5 separate regions of the Homo sapiens genome follow, and regions 1, 2, 3 and 4 are each linked to region 5. Evidence: promoter capture Hi-C in 16 types of primary human blood cells and fetal thymus (Javierre and others, 2016). All regions are on one chromosome and are shown on one strand. Each heading gives the region's core, a stretch centred on a gene start or on the middle of the fragment in contact. The rest is flanking DNA. Distances are from core to core; before and after follow the strand shown.

What was found. Contacts are between HindIII fragments. The CHiCAGO score rates a contact against its expected background, and 5 or more counts as called.
Region 1: a contact is called between the fragment with the promoter of RFC1 here and the fragment with the promoter of TLR10 in region 5, in 3 of 17 cell types (total B cells, naive CD8 T cells and erythroblasts). The highest score is 9.7, in total B cells.
Region 2: a contact is called between a fragment that was not itself captured here and the fragment with the promoter of TLR10 in region 5, in 7 of 17 cell types (naive CD4 T cells, activated CD4 T cells, naive CD8 T cells and 4 more). The highest score is 6.1, in naive CD4 T cells.
Region 3: a contact is called between a fragment that was not itself captured here and the fragment with the promoter of TLR10 in region 5, in 5 of 17 cell types (naive CD8 T cells, naive CD4 T cells, total CD8 T cells and 2 more). The highest score is 7.6, in naive CD8 T cells.
Region 4: a contact is called between a fragment that was not itself captured here and the fragment with the promoter of TLR10 in region 5, in 3 of 17 cell types (endothelial precursors, total CD8 T cells and erythroblasts). The highest score is 5.4, in endothelial precursors.

What each region holds. Positions count from the first base shown.
Region 1 is chr4:39,364,357-39,367,766 of GRCh38, reverse strand. It overlaps RFC1 (replication factor C subunit 1), which reads left to right and starts at 1,405. Exons shown (of 25, transcript NM_002913.5): 1 at 1,405-1,528. The coding sequence starts at 1,526. RefSeq lists an enhancer at 1,364-1,483. The HindIII fragment of the contact is 1,173 bases long and covers 741-1,913 here.
Region 2 is chr4:38,197,597-38,200,791 of GRCh38, reverse strand. No RefSeq gene overlaps it. Among named protein-coding and RNA genes, the nearest start is that of LINC02513, 170 kb to the left of the region's middle. The HindIII fragment of the contact is 6,971 bases long and covers 1-3,195 here.
Region 3 is chr4:38,129,947-38,133,421 of GRCh38, reverse strand. TBC1D1 (TBC1 domain family member 1) reads right to left here. Exons shown (of 22, transcript NM_001396959.1): 21 at 165-338. Among named protein-coding and RNA genes, the nearest start is that of PTTG2, 170 kb to the right of the region's middle. RefSeq lists a silencer at 345-484. The HindIII fragment of the contact is 2,765 bases long and covers 307-3,071 here.
Region 4 is chr4:38,149,021-38,152,189 of GRCh38, reverse strand. No RefSeq gene overlaps it. Among named protein-coding and RNA genes, the nearest start is that of PTTG2, 190 kb to the right of the region's middle. The HindIII fragment of the contact is 3,669 bases long and covers 1-3,169 here.
Region 5 is chr4:38,781,122-38,784,535 of GRCh38, reverse strand. It overlaps TLR10 (toll like receptor 10), which reads left to right and starts at 1,546. Exons shown (of 4, transcript NM_030956.4): 1 at 1,546-1,615. RefSeq lists enhancers at 2,225-2,394, 2,457-2,666. The HindIII fragment of the contact is 660 bases long and covers 1,514-2,173 here.

The sequences.
Region 1 (3,410 bases), core at 156-2,655, 580 kb before region 5:
TAAATATTCCTAAAGAAAACAATCTCACAAAGAAGTTACAGTCTCCTGACTTAAGTCTCATTTAAACTCAAGGAAGGCTTCAAATGCCAAAAAAAAAAAAAAGCAAAAGTTAAGAGGAATGTAATATAAAAGACACGTACAACTTTTTATGTCTTATTTACTCATTTATTGATTTATAACACAATGAACATTATAAATTGGTGTAGGTCCTCTAAAATTATGGGCAAAAATTTGTGTGATATGTCTGCTAAGACAAAACCGAGGCACAGTAACTTGCCCTTGGTCACATAAATAGCAGGTGGTGGGGCTGGAGACCTAGCATCCTGGCTTCAGAGGGAACAGTGCAGTGAGGCCCTGTTAATAAGTAACAGTCTGTCTGTAAATTCGGGATAAGAGTAGTCAGTGTCATCATGGGGATAAAATGAGCTAGGCTAGTCCAGAGCTGCACGTACAACAATAGGCGTTTAATAAATACAAGCTGTCAATGCTCAGCCTCTGTTGTATTCCAGGCTGTTCTATCTTTCGCCATAGAAATGTTGGTGTCATAAAGCGCAAGACCCAACAGGGGGTGGATGGGTGAGAATTTCAAAAGTGTAGCTAGAGCCAAAGCTGGAGATACTGCTTTCTCCATTGAACTCTTTATGGTCTAATCTTTCTCTTGAAATCGTACGCAAATGTTTCATTGTATTCCGTGATTCAATTGCTAATCTATTCATATACAACTGGTTTACCCCAAAGCTTTCGGTATCTTTTCTTTTTTTTGAGGCGGAGTTTCGCTCTGTCGCCCAGGCTAAAGGGCAGTAGCTCGATCTCGGCTCACTGCACCACTGCCTCCTGGGTTCAAGCAATTCTCCTGTCTCAGTCTCCCGAGTAGCTGGGACTACAGGCACACGTCACCACCCCCTGGCTAATTTTTGTATTTTTAGTAGAGACGGGGTTTCACCACATTGGTCAGGTGGTCTCGAACTCCTGACCTCAGGTGACCCACCCGCCTCGGCCTCCCAAAGTGCTGGGATTAGAGGGGTGAGCCACCGCGTCCGGCCTCTTGATGAAACCTTATTACAGAATAGATATTTATACATAATATGTAAAACGCACAGCTAAAACATTTATCTTACTAAAGTTGGTAGTAAAAACTTTTCAAAGTTACTATAGGGAAGTGCATTGTCCAGACGTGTAACCGGGAGGTACTTGGGTACCCCGCCTGCCAAGGAAACCAATATCGGATCCCCCTACTTTAGCGCCCCCGCCAAAAACCGAGCTCACACCAAAGCACCGTGGTTCCTCTCGATGTCAGCGGCCCGCCTGCCCTCGGGGCAGCACCTGGGCAGGCGTCGCACCTCCCGCCTCTGGGCGGGACGGAAGCAAAGCTCGCGCCTCCTGACGTCATCACCGCGCGCCACTGTCTTCGCCTTCTTGCACTTCGCGGGAGAAGTTGTTGGCGCGAATGGATCCTGAGCCTCGATAACAGATTCCTCAACCGGCCCACCCGCCAGCCAGCCAGCGCCTTCATCCTGGGGCTGCGATGGTGAGCCGCTGGGGGAGGCCGTGCGGCTCGGGGTCTGGGGGGGCTTTGCAGGCCTGGTGTGGACCGGGCACTCCTGGTATGCAGGGTGGGGGAGGATGGCGGTGGGTGGTTCCGGAGGCTAGCAAAGGCAGAGAAGGGGCCGCACACCGGGCACTGGACGCAAAACTTTCATTGCATCGCGGGCTCTGGCTCTGGGCGGCAGCCAGCGCGCAGGGATTTTGTTGCTACGTGTACTTGCACTTTCCCCCCGCCCCCCACTCTTGGGGGAAGGGAGAAAGGAAGAGAGGAAGGATGGTGGTTTTGGGACGCATTGGTAAAGTTATTTTCTTGTTCGGCGTTGCCCGAACCTCAGTTTGAGTACTGCCTAAAGCGTGGATTTCAAGCTTTGGGTCACGAGGGAGAAGAATGTAACAAACTTTTCTTTCTTAGGGAATATGTTGTGTAGGGCCTTAAACTTTTATCATTAACAGCTCAGCTCGTCTCATCTCCGCTCGTCATTAACGATCACCTGAGCGGTGTTGAGACCGAGGGCATGGAGAGGATATTTTATTTTGTTTAGATGAGTTCATAGGAGTCAAAAGGATAACATGGCTTACTAGGAAAAAGAAGTACAGCGAATAGAAACAGATGCAAGACATTTGACAGCTGTCATCCTCTTACCACCTGATGTTTAAAATCTGAAAAAAACCCAAGCCTCACTGCATAATTCTGGATAAAATGTTCAAACAAATTGAAAGTGAAATGATTATGCAGCCAGCAAAGCAGACATTCCTGATGGTATGGCAATGGATATGGCTCTGTGTTTGAAATATTTTTAAAGGACCATTTAAAATGTTCATTAAGCTAGAAGATACTTAACAATCCGATATAATTTTTTTCAATCATTGGTCAACGTGTCACAGTGACAACATTCTGGGGGGGGGCGGTGAAAATTTTATGCCACACTGGGAAACGTTGCAGGCCTTTGTGTTTCTTCTCAAAAAAGGGCAACAGTAATGATAGTAGCTACCTTGTACCAAGCATCTTCTTTAGGTCAATATGTGAACTGTTGGTTTTCCATGGTTTTTTTTTTTTTTTTTTTTTTTCATTTCAACCCACATCGATGCAGTTTTACAGATGGTGCAAGCACCTTTTTGGAATTTAAACAGTGTATCATATAACTAGTAGGTGGTTGAACTAGAATTAGAATCTTGGTGTTTCTGACCACCATGTTATACTACTTCCCTATAATGATCATCATTACATTTTGGAGGCCAAAGCACTGTGGTATTTTGGAAGCTTGAGACTTGGAGTCTTGAAGATGAAGAACGTGGTAATATTTTAGTTTAATGGTTTATATATTAATTTATAGTTATATTACTATGTTAGTATAGTCTAGTTTAATAGTTACGTGGTCTTGGGCAAGTAAATAGCTTAAGTTTAATCTCTTTAAGCCTCTGTTTCCTTATCTGTAAAAGAGGGGAAAATAATAGCTGCCATAGTGATTGTTTTGGGGATTAAGCAAGATGTATAGGTAAAGCTTCCGTTCTGGTTCTGGTGCCTGGCATGTTAGGCAACTACACAGCTACCAGTGATCTATTTTCTCAGAAAGGACTCTATGGAAAGTTACATAGATTTTAAGAGGCATGGTAGATTCCTCTGTCATTTATGGTGAACATAGCTTGTGTGGTCAACTTTTGATCATTCAGGTGCTTTTACTTTTGGTTCTTTTCTTTCTTTAGTACTCCTGTTCATGGTGCAGATAAAAAATAGACCTCTTCTCAGAAAAGAAATAGGTCAAATTGGTCAGTTTTGTTGTTAGTGGGTAAACATCCTATGAGGTAGATAAGAATTTTGTATTATACTGATATTTAATTTAGCCCTCCAGTCTCTAGTGCAACAA
Region 2 (3,195 bases), core at 89-2,588, 580 kb after region 5:
GCAGGAGAATTGCTTGAACCCGGGAGGCAAAGGTTTCAGTGAGCAGAGATCACGCCACTGCACTCCAGCCTAAGCAACAGAGCGAGACTCAGTCTCAAAAAAAAAAAAAAGCAGGGGGAGAAAAGAAAAGTACTCATTCAATTGTTCATTCAGTCAGTCATCCACTCAATTCAACTAAGAATTGTTGAGAATCTACTCCGTGCCAGGTGCTGGGTATATGGGGTGAAAACAATAGAATCATCTGTATCCTTGCGGAGCTGACAGCCTGGGGAGAAAGACAGACACGGAACAAGACAACAGACAAATGGATACATAATGGCAAACAGTGATTGGCTATGAAGGATACAAGGTGTAGTTACAAAGAATGAAGGGGGAAAGGACACTGTGGATACAACATGGTGAGAAACGGCTCCCTGAAGAGTTGATGTTCAAGCTGAGAGTTGAAAGACGAGAAGGAACTAGACCTGCGAAGAGTCAGGCTGGAGATGGAGGGAGGAAAGATCACTTCAAGGAGAAGGAATTAGTTTATCTGCAAGGGCCCTGAGCTGGGAAAGAATCTAGAGGGTTTGAGGAACTGAAATGCACCTGCTTAATGGCAGCAGAGTGTGATAAGTGGGGAGAATGGCATGAGAGGGACTTGGAAGGTTAGGCTTAGAGTCTTGGATATTCCTACACCCATGGGTGAACTATGGCAAGTAAACAAAATGAACTTGAAATCTTCATGGAAGAGCCAAATCCACAATTTGGTGGAATGGGATTTGTTCTTTCAACAGGTATTCCCAAAGTGCCTACTTGTTCCAGGATTGGTATATGGAAAGAAGGGATGGTAAACAGAGGAAAAGGATCTGACTGATGGGAAGGCCCATCAGTCACTGTCCAGAAAGCTGTTTGTTTGCTTGGGTAGCTAAGGAAGGAATATGGTGGAGAGTGTCTGGTGGAGAAGTTCAGGCATCAGTGTAGTCCTGCAATGGTCTGGTTTTGGATCTTGGAAGCAGGAAGGGGAGAAACATACTGCACACATATATGTCTCTGCGTGTGGTGGGAACGGGGGTGGCCAGGGATGGGAGAGAGAGCAAGAGCAGTGCAAAATCAAACACAAGCCCCCAAGAAAGCAGGCAGACTGGAGAAAGGAAAATAAAGACACGCTCACACCCACACCACAAGCAATCCTATGACTCTTGGCAGTACAGGCAGATGAGGGTGCAGGTGCAAGGATGGCTGTCACGGGAAGGGAGCAAAATGTATTGTGTGGGGCTCAATCTGTGTAGCTCACTGGGCAGAAGATGTCCCTATGACCTCACACAACAAACACGAGAGCTGCTAAGTCACCCATTAGATTTAAGGGAATCAAGTCCACTGTGGCCTGGACAAGACTCCATGTTTTAAAAGTCTCTTAAAGCCTAAAGTCACGGCACAAAGCTCTCTGAACTCCCCAAGTTCAGACAGTTCCACAAAGGAGCCCCCAAGCATCCCAGCTCCTGGAGCTGCCCACCCTGGCATCATTTCCTTTCTCTTGGGAGCCTCCCCAAGAGAGCAGAGAGAAAATACACTCAATCCTCCCATTGCAGGGCTTTTTAGAGACTCTGTGCGAAACCAAAGAAAGTGAGAGATTTGGTGAATGTGGCCGTAACTCATTCACACAAGCTCCCTGCCTCCACACGGAGCACAGTGAGTTGACAAACCATTTACCGACTCAATTTGGATAAACCTTAAGCTGAAATAAGACATTTTCTATGCCCTTTAGGAAGCAGTTCCAGTGTCTCTGACAAGTTCTAATTAGAAATATGTATCAACAATATTAATGAAAATTTCGGAAGAAAAGTCCCTCCTCCATAATCTTACCAACTTCACGCCACCTCCCCCCACCAACATTTTTCATTTTCCCACATCTTTCTAGAACCTGTTCGCATGGGTAAGTGGCTTCCCCTGCTGCAGCCGTCTCTGGGTAGCATTCAACTCCCTCTTCCTTGTCATCGTAGCACACATTGCTACACCGTGCCACTCCTCCTACACTCCTGTGCTTTATAATCTCCATTGTCACTATCTTGAAGAAGACCCCACATTTGTTTTTTTCCTCTAAATAATTATCTGCTCCTTTAGTGGTTATGAGGCCAAGTTTTACAGTCAGACAGGCAGGCCTGGGGTCAAACCCTCACTTCGCCGTTTACCATCTGGGCAACTTTGGGAGAACTGGCTTCTCATTGTCAGTTTTCTCGTCAGTGAAAAGGGGACAGTGACCACTGCCTCCTAGAATGGCTGTGAGGTCTACACTGAGATACTAAATATAAACCAAGCATGGAGACTGGCACATAGGAAGGGTTTAACAAATGGAAGCTATTTTGTTAATACTATCATTTCTTCTTATTTATTCTCCTTTGGAAATTCAAAACAGGATATGGCGTAGCACAAGGTAATCTGGGAGTGTAAGTTTCTTATAAGTTTCTTAGCAACAGATAAGGCCAGTCGTCCCCCTCACTGGGAAGAAGGGCCAGTAGGTTGTAGGGAAGGTGTCCCCTTCCAGTCAGGCCCAGACAGTGTCCAGGCACTCAAACCACACTCTTCTGCTCCCCATCCTATCTTCCAAACAGGGAATGACCTGCCCAAAGCCCATCACTATTCCCTTGGGTTGATACATCACTCTCTTTTGTAAAACTAAGTTAAAACATTTTAGGGACATCAAAGCACTAATCAGTCCCCTGAAGCAAAAACATTTACCAAAGCACCTCTGGCCAGGCTAAAAGAATTAATGCAGCTTAGAAAAAGCAGCTTTTTAAGCCAAGCGCAGCGGCTCACGCCTGTAATCCCAGCACTTTGGGAGGCCAAGGCAGGCAGACCACTTGAGGTGAGGAGTTTGAGACCAGCCTGGCCAACATGGCAAAACCCTGTCCCTACTAAAAATACAGAAAAATTAGCTGGGTGTGGTGGGACACGCCTGTAGTCCCAGCTACTCCAGAGGCTGAGGCAGGAGAATCGCTTGAACCTGGGAGGTGGAGGTTGCAGTGAGCTGAGATCGTACCATTGCCCTCCAGCCTGGGTGACAGAGCAAGATTCCATCTCAAAAAAAAGAAAAACAAAAAGCAGCTTTTTTACAGACAGGAGGCACTCCCCTGGTAGGTGTGTTTCGTGTTTAAGGATACTGCATTCCTAAAGGCCCTGATGCACGTGAACCCTTAAGCCTAATTTAAGGGTAAATGT
Region 3 (3,475 bases), core at 440-2,939, 650 kb after region 5:
AAAAGGACCCATTCTCCCGGGATACCTTTGATCCCAACTATAAACAGATCAGGGTGGGAAAGGTCCTCTGGTCATGGGAAAGCCCAGCCTGCTGTTGCCTTTGGTGAGTTAATGAACTACCATATATTTGTGATTCAGGAAGCTGCTTTATAAATATGCTCTACCTGCAACTGTTCAAGGAGGTCAAGGTTCTGTTTGCGTAAGCTGCTGTTGGTTTTCTCTAATTTATCCATTCTTTGGTTGTCACTGAGAGGAGAGGAATCGATAAGTTCTTCTTGAAGGACGTGGTACTCAACTTCATAAGCTTGTAACTGTTTAGCGATGTCCATTTCAAATACCTGTTATAGAAAGAAAAGTCATCACGTACTAAAACTGAGAAAAACCCCACAAGTACAGGCAGGCGTCTGCAATCACGACAATGCGCACCTGTGAAGCGTCTCCTCTACGCTTAGCTCTACACTTGGTACTAGAAGTAATAAATAAGAAAAACTACGCACTGAGAAGGTAATAATTTTACTTGGGACAAAAGGATATAAGAAACATCTAGAAATAATTCCAAGGTAACATTAAGTACAGGTTTTTGATACTCACCTTCCAAAAGCCAAAAAAAAAAAAAAAACCTCTCATTTTTAAAGACATAAAAATTTATTTTTAGTTCTTATTTCACTTCTTTTCTCTGAAAATTCTGTTAGGTTAGATACATCAACTATGGGTTAAAAGGAGAAAAGAAACAAAAGAATCATAGCCTGTTTGCAGAGTCACCAAGTCAAAGTTTAATTATAGTTCAGTTGGGTTTTCAGAGTTACAAGAACAGCTAAGTAATGGGACTGTTTACTAAAAAACTCTCCTTTGCACACAAATATGCAGAAATGAGCCAAAACCCACATGTCACCCACACAGATGAGTGAATACGAAACGATGCCTGAGTTGTCTTCTTTCCCACAATAGTAATGGTGACGAAAACACCACACGTGTGAAAAACAACTCCTAAGTGCCTAAGTGACTCAAGCCGTCCGTGTCTGTACTTTCTCTTGGTAAGGAAGGCAGGGCGGAAAGCAGAATCAGAAGACAGCTGCTGCTGCTGCTGCCCAAGGCATTTCCTTTCTTTCCAGTTGTTTCTATGAGAGAACCCCAGGGGCTGGGGCCTCTCAGCACAGCAGTGAAGCCCTAACGTTTATCTGATGGATCTGAGAATGCAGTCAAGCTGGGACCATCTTAAAAGAAAAAAAAAAAAAACCCTGCTAGATCAGAACACACATTCAGAAAGTGAAGTCAGGCTTTAAAAGGGCAGAAACTGCCTCTCTATTGCATTGCCTTAAGCAACTCCAATATTGTTAAAAATCAGTGTAAAACTACTTCTTCTGATGGCTCCCTACTGGCATTCAAACTAGCCTATCTTCCCTGGAATCAATTTTCAAAAACCATGTTTCCTTTCTCACCATTCCCAACAATCTTATTTTCTCTTCCTTGAGATGAATTTTTCAGCTTGCTGTTTTTGATTCAGTGGATAATATTAATAAGGCACAAAAGTCATTTGATGCCTAAAAACTAAAATCCATTATATCTGTGGGGTGTGTGTGCATGTGTGCGAGGGGAGTAAGAGGGAGAGAGAGAATTGTTTACTGGATTGAACTGATTCTCTTTTGTCCTTCAGAGCGACCGTGAGGTCAGCAGGGATTATTATCTCCATTTGACAGCCGAGGTAACTGGCTCAGAGGCTTTGAGTCAGCCTTAAAATTGCGGCTCCACTGGCGACTCTATGAATGACTTGAGCTCGGTACTTAACCTCTCTCAGCCACAGTTCCTGGCCTCCCACCTGGGGCAGACAGCGCCTACCTCCCAGGATGGCTGTGAGAATTAAACGAGGCAACTCCTGGAAGTTCCCAGCACACGCCTGGCAGGTTGAGCAGGCGCTCTCTTAGCTAAGGGATCTGCTTCCACACACCTGCCACAAAACCCTCACATTTCAACCTCAGCAAAACCATCATCAATGGATGCCACGTCATGGAACTTCTGAATAGTCTGAACAGTAAAAACCACAAATGTTAAAACTGAGATTGTTTGGCACTCATGTATAATTATAAATATGGTGCTGAATAAATGTCATGTACACTATTACTTTTTTTCTTTCACAAAGATTTAAGTGATCTCCTAACCTGGAAAGCCTGGGAACAAAACCTCTGGCTTTTCCTACGGATTGATGTTCTGTGTTAAGTTAATGGCTCTCAGCAGTACCCAAAGCCATAAACTCTTCCAGGCCTCCATTAATCCCTAGGAACCACCCTGGGTCACAATCATCTCTGCTTAATTGCCTGATGATCTCCTGACTGCCAAGACTCCTAGGCCCTTCATTCTGCAGTTATGCCCCTGAATTTACCCCAAACCATGGCAATATGAGGCTGGTGGTCAAAGGAGAACCCTGGTCACTGAACGAGGGCTTCAGCCCTTGGGCTAATTACTTGGGGAAAGAAAAGAATTGGGAGGGGCGCCTGTCCTTGCACACTTAGACAGCACAAGTGATCCACTGCCAGGAGCAGTTCTCAGCCAGAGAAAGAGCAGGAAGGCCTAACATTAAAAACCCAATCCTTTGGTATGTTGTCTCAGATGAATAAAACAGACGAATATTAAAAACTAGGTGTTGATAGGAAAACAAGATATATACACTTTAAGGTGTTTTCATTTCTGGTCTGAGTCACTCCTGAGGCTGGACAAGTGCAGTGCCCACCTCCCCCAGGGTCTTGCCTAAGCCGTTCCCTGAGCACTGGTCACTACACAAAGCTGCAAGGTACCTGGCCCCTCTGCAAGGGGGACTGGCTCTCATCTTCTTTCTTGCTGGCCCATCTCAGAGCAATTCCACTAGAGTTGTAATTACTGGGGATCTAGAGCCTTCCTGTCATCCTGGCTCTTAGGTTCTTCATAGTTTTCAGTCAAGTTCCAGAATTTTGGTACTGAAGAAAATTTCTCTTCTGTTTGCCAAAGTAGGAATGACTATTTCCATACTTTCGATGTTTTGCCGAAAAGATAAAACTATTTTAAGTTACTGAAGCAATAGAGCTACATTATTGGAAGCTTGAAAAATAAAAGAAAAATCACCAAATACAACTTTTATATCTAGCTATATTTCCTATTTCCTAAAAGCATGTTTTTCTAGTTCTAAACATAACCAACATAAAATTTCCTATCCCACTTTTCCTTTACTTAACATTGTATCAAATAAGAGCTTTTTCATGTCGCTATATATAACTGGCTTCATGATATTCTACCAGCTCAACCTACCATCATCATATTAATCCAGTCATCAAGTGTTAGACATCTAGTTCCAAGTTTCTGTTATTATAAGTGACAAGTCTAGGAGAATAACCTTATACATATGGCTTCCCTCATATTTTGGATTATTTCCTGAGGATACATTCCAAGAAACGGGATGACTGAGTCAAAGGGTATGAATATTTTACTGGCTTGGGATATGTTTCGC
Region 4 (3,169 bases), core at 375-2,874, 630 kb after region 5:
TGAGAAATAGTTTCCAAATATATTACACGAAAAATATTTTCTTTTGGTGCTTTGAGTTCATTTCTGATCCTACCGGTGATCCTACGGAGGCACTTTCTGACTAATGAAGTGTTTGTGGTAGCAGCCGCACTCAGCCCCACTAAACCACAGGATTATGATTCCTGCCTTGTGCATAGAATGCTAGAACTTTCTGGAAAACCTTGGAAAGGGCCAAGATGTGACTTTGTGGCTGGTGCCTACCAGTCCTGAAGCCAAGGAGGTGTCCTATGGTTTCTTGCATGTCCCCACCCTGCCGGGGTGGCTGGTTCCATTTCTGGAACAGCTTTGGAGCCTTCCCAAGCCTGGAATTGGCTACCTTTCCCAGGTGTTCACTCCTCCATGTTGACTGCCCATAATGCACAGACCACTGATACGATCTGGCTGTGTCCCCACCCAAATCTCATCTTGAACTGTAATCCCCATAATCCCCATGTCTAGGGAGAGACCTGAGGGGAAGTGATTGAATCATGGGGGCTTTTCCCCCGATGCTGTTCTTGTGGTAGTGAGTGAGTTCTCTGGAGACCTGATTGTTTTATAAGGCAGTTTTCCCTGCTCTTGCTCATACTTTCTCTCTCACCTGCCACCATGTAAGACGTGCCTTTGCTTCTCCTTCACCTTCTGCCATGATTGTAAGTTTCCTGAGGCATCCCCAGTCATGCAGAACTGTGAGTCAATAAAACCTCTTTCCTTTATAAATTACCCAGTCTCAGGTAGTATCTTTATAGCAGTGTGAAAAAGGAATAATACAACCACCAAGCTAGTTACCAAGAGGATTTAGAGACTGGGCAATATGAGAAATCATGACATTTGCTCCAGGGGAAGGTATGGAGATAGGCTGAACCAAATAACATCTTCTGGCCAACCTGTCTTGAGTGAAGCCCTGTTCTCAGGGAGGTACCAGTTGTCTCAGAATTGAGCCAGCAGGCAAAGCTGGGCCTCCCTGGTTTTGTCTTGGCTACTATTATGTCCACCAAAAAAAGACCACATGGATGCCTGGCCTCAGAAGATACAATTTTCCAGAGAAATTGTTAGAATGCACTGCGTTGAAAAATAATTTGTTTCTTCTTATCACCATAAAATCTCAAAAATTAAAATGCTAAGGAAATGAGGTTCTTCTGATAGCTGACCTTTTCTGGCTAAAAGGAAACTATTTTTATTTTCACCAGTGATGCTGAAAATCTCTGTCTCATGAATCAATGCCTGGGCCTGCTTTTAATCATCCAGGACACTGCTGGGCTGCAGGGCGCTGTAAGTCCAGATGATGTAGTCTGTAGACATGCAACACGTAAGCCACTGAGTCAAACCCGATTTCCAGCCTGCTGCTGGTCGCTGGTATCTTGTTTCTCTTTGGTTTTAATCAGACCCTTTCTATGTGCAATATTTTGTTATAGTGTATTCCCTTTCCCTAAAAATCAAAGCATAAAAATTCAATTTGAGGACCCAAGTTAACTGGGTTCCACTTGAGGAATGGCTGTAGCTGCAGCAAAATGTTTTGGCTCACACTTAGCGCCTGACCACATTTTGACTATGGGATGACTTTAGCATTCACTTGGCAAGGGCATTTCCATTTGGCTCCCCGTGAAGTCATAGAAATTCTAGTTATTTCTGCAGTGTGTGATTGCCTGGTTTATTTATAAGAACCATCCATCAGGATTGAGCTGTTCTTTCGTCTGGAGCCACTTGTATTATCACAATTATGAAATGTTTATTTTCTTAGATCAGCTTGAGCTGATAAAGCACTTTTGAGCCATTAAGAATCTTGTAAGTCAAGATAGTTTAGATAAGGATATGATTTTTTTCTGGGGGGCTAAATCAGATGAATCTATGGCCTCTCCCTTGATTGGGCTATCACGTTAAATGGGTGTGACCATCACACACTCCTCTGAGAGGTGGGGTCCCCTCCTTAGAAGGATTTGCAGCCAGACCCCCTTGTTTCCTCTGGCTCACATCCCAGCTGGGAAGTGCAGCTTCAAGGAACCTGGGGAGATGAGGCCACCCCAGCGAGGCAGAGGCGAGTGATGAATGTTCCAGGCCCGCAAGGCCTATTTGCAACCACACTGGGCACAAGAAGCTCAAAGAAAATATTCCATATTAATGAGGGTTGAGCAGGCTCATGGATTTACATTCTAAACACCAATCTGGCAGCGTCTGTCAAAAATGAAAGATGCACTTTCATTTGTTTACTGAATATCTGATTGCCTCTTATGTCCAAGTGCTGCCCAAGATATAACAACAGTGAGGAAGTAAGACCCTTTCCTCACAAATCTTACTTTCCTGTGGCAGGGACAGACAGATAAGCAACCAAACATGGACTATACTGTCAGAGAGCAGTAATTAGCATGGACAGGGCTGGATAGAGAGTACAGGGCAGAGGGGGCAGGGGCTGCCTATTAGACAAGGTGAGACCACAGTGAAGTGAGGAAACAAACCAAATGTCTGACCAGGACAGGAGCTTCCAAAGCAGATGGAGCAATGAGTGCAGATGCCCTGAGAGGGAGCATGGGGGTTGTCAGCAGAGCAGAGGCCAGAGAGTTGCAGTAAGTGAGGAGGAGAGGTAGGAAGCAAGGTCTGAGAGCAAGGAGGGGTGGGGGCAGATCTTGGCAGAGCCTTTCAGCAGAGACTGTGAACTGTCTCTAATATCCACATTCCCTTCTTCCCTTTGTAATAAAATCCCCCCATCTTTTTTTTTTTTTTTCCTGAGACGGAGTCTCGCTCTGTTGCCCAGGCTGGCAATCGAGTGCAGTGGCGCGATCTCGGCTCACTGCAACCTCCGCCTCCCAGATTCAAGTGATTCTCCTGCCTCACCCTCCCGAGTAGCTGGGACCACAGGCGCCCACCACCATGCCCGGCTAATTTTTGTATTTTTAGTAGAGACAGGGTTTCACCATGTTGGCCAGGCTGGTCTCGAACTCCTGACCTCAGGTGATCCACCCGCCTCACCCTCCCAAAGTGCTGCGATTACAGGCATGAGCAACCATGCCCAGCCAAAATCCCCCATCTTTGTGGGGCTCACATTGAGACCCTATCTCCCAGGCTCTTGTGCCACTTGGTGTGGCTACATCAGTGAGTTCATGCTAATGGACCATGGATGGAAATGGTTTCTGCTACTTCTTGGTTCTGTATTTATAAA
Region 5 (3,414 bases), core at 297-2,796:
CTAGATGGTCCCATCTGACATGATGGGAAGCAGTGACAGATCATCAGACATTAGATTCTCATAAGGAGCACGCAACCTAGATCCCTCCCATATGCAGCTCACAGTAGGGTCCAAGCTCCTATGAGAATCTAATGCTGCCACTGATATGACAGGGTGTGGAGCTCAGGTGGTAATGCAAGCGATGGGGAGCGACTGTAAATACAGATGAAGCTTCATTTGCTTACCCACCACTCACCTCCTGCTGTGTGGCTCGGTTCCTAACAGGCCATGAACTGGTACCTGTCTGTGGCCCAGGGGTTGGGGACCACTGCTCTAGATAACTCCTTTCCACCCTCTTCCTGCCTGATTGCTGAAATTATGGAGTCACCATTCCTACTCCTGCCCATCATCACATGACTGCCCCACCCAACTGATGAAAGGGATAACCGACCTGCACCTTGAAGAAAAGCATCATCAAAGAGCTCTAAGATGCTGTGGAAAACCAGTATGGTAGTTCTGCAAAAAATTAAACAGAATGGTCATACGATCCGTGAATTCCACTTCTAGGTATAGACTCAAAAGAATGTTAAGTACCAACTTAAATAGATATTTGTGCACCACGTTCACAGCAGCATTATTCACAAGAGCCAAAAGGTGAAAACTACCCAAATGTCCATTGATGGATGAATGAATGAACAAAATGTGGGACGTACATACAACAAAATAGTATTCAGCCTTAAAAAAGGAAGGAAAGATTCTATTATTCTATGTAATAATAATAGAAATGATATGGATGAACCTTAAAGACATTATGCTCAATGAAATAAGCCAGTCACAAAAAACCAAATATGGTATAACTCCACGGACATGAGGTACCTAGAGTAGTCAAATTCACACAGACAGAAAGTAGAATTATAGTTTCCAGGGTCTGAGGGAAGGGGAAAATGGGAAATTATTTTTTAATGGCATAGAATTTCAGTTTGGGATGACGAAAAATCTTTGGAGATGGGCAGTGGTGGTGGTTGCACAACAGTGTGAATGTACTTAATTAATGCCACTAAATTGTACATTTAAAAATGCTTAAGGTCAGGCGCGGTGGCTCACACCGTAATCCTAGCACTTTGGGAGGCCGAGACAGGCAGATCACTTGAGCTCAGGAGTTCAAGACCAGCCTGGGCAACTGGCGAAACCCCGTCTCTACAAAAAATACAAAAAACTTAGCCAGGCCAGTTGGTGAGCGCCTGTAGTCCCAGACATTTGCGGGACTGAGAAGCCCAGCCTCTTGCGGGCTTTAGCGCAAGAGGTCAAGGCTGCAGTGAGCAGTGATCACACCACTGCACTCCAGCCTGGGTGACAAAGTGAGACCCTACCTCAAAAAAAATAAAAATAAAAATAAAAATAGAAAGATGGTGAGCATGATAACTCCTATGTTATGTGTATTTGACCACAATTTAAAAAAGTGCTAAGATTATAATGAATATATATAACATGCAATACCAGTAGCATGCAGAAGAGGGCGGATGGGGTTTAAGCTTTACAGAAAACCTCGATTCAATTCCCTCCTGCAGCCAATTCTGACCGTGTCAACGAATCATCCACGCACCTGCAGCTCTGCTGAGAGAGTGCAAGCCGTGGGGTAAGAACCTTAGCTTTGTTTGTTGTAACTCTCATTAAAAAGATATAAGGGCTGCATGGGTATTTTCTAAAAAGGAGATAATTTGAGCTAATATTGAGGGGAGGGAAGTAGGGTTATTTAGATTTTTAGTATTTACTATTTTGTCTAGATTAATGATTAGTGACCTTGGGGCTATTGATCTGAGGAATTTCTTGCAGATGCTTGAGAGCGTGGGTTTCTTTTCACTGATTGCGGATCAAACCTGGTCAGCTCTTCTATTCAGATTGAACGGTCCTATGCACTGTGGCAAGTTTTTTCTAGCTCTTATTTCCCCACAGCGTATGTTAACCTCTGCTGGATGAAACCTTTGGCTATTTAAGGCATATTTGTTGCTCCTTTACCCCGTTGAAAAGTTCTGCATTTGTGTTACCTGTTTAAAAGTAGGGGCAGATCTGATGGATCTTGTACAATGCAGTTCTTATTCCGTTTCCTTCAGAAGTGGACAAAGAGGGCCATATGTGGTTGCTGTAAAGAAGAGGATGGTTAACAACCTGTGAGCATTTGGTTTCTTGATAAGCTTTCTCCCAGACCACCTACACTGAGCTATTAATTAGGAATAGGATGCACTTCGAGTTTTATTTCAATTCTTGTGAACTTATAACTTTCCTAAGAATATATTTATACATGTAGGCAAAGTCTCTTGAACTTTGTGGCACCTAGCAGAGTGTCCCACAGCAGCTGCATGAAGCTTCATAGACAGGGGCATGGGGTGAGAAAGGAGGAAGTGGCCGCCATGGCAGCTGGTCAGATCAATGGATTCAACCTCAGTGATTCGGTCCTTAGGATGTCGTTACATCTTAAGCCACCTCATTTCAAGGTTTGAGGTGCCTTGCATTTGGGTTTAGTTACCATCCAGAAGGAACCAGACAGGTCTGGGTTCAAATCTCTGCTTCTTCAGTTGGTCATCTTGGGCAAGTTACTTTACCTCTGGGCTTTAGCTCCTCCATCTGTAAAATATGAATAATAATGGCCGCCATTTTGTTGAGTCATTGAGGGATTAAACAAGGTAATGGACATAAAACACTTAGCTCCATGTCAGACACGTAGGAAATACTGAAAAGAAGTCATTCTTACTCTTATGTTGCAAAGATCATTCAACATTCAATAGGTTCTTAATCTCTTTTCTATTTCTTTATATCATTGGGAAAAGATAAATTAGATGATTAAATATTCTTTGGTAAAACACTAGTTGTCATTTGATGATGTCTTTTGACTTGGACTTTTAAATTATAAGATATTAAAGATGTATTAAGGAAGGTCATTCTCTGTTTTTTACCTGCTTTTAACGTAGTAGTAGGGATATGATATTAACATATATATACTATTTATAGACTACATCACCAACATGGTGAAACCCCATCTCTACTAAAAATACAAAAATTAGCCGGGTGTGATGGCAGGTGCCTGTAATCCCAGCTACTCAGGAGGCTGCGGCAGGAGAATCGCTTGAACCTGGGAGGTGGAGCTTGCAGTGAGCTGAGATCATACCACTTTACTCCAGCCTGGGCAACAGAGCGAGACTCCATCTCAAAAAAAAAAAAAAGTGTATGTCCTACTTTTAAAATTGCTTTAATGAGGCCAAGCACAGTGGCTCACACCTCTAATCACACCCATTTGGGAGGCTGAGGTGGGAAGATTGCTGGAGGCCAGGAGTTTAAGAGCAGCCTTGGCAACATAGTGAGACCCTGTCTCTATGTAAAAGTTGTTTTTATAAAATGTCATAATGCATAAGTATTGCCTGAGAGATAGGACCTTTACTA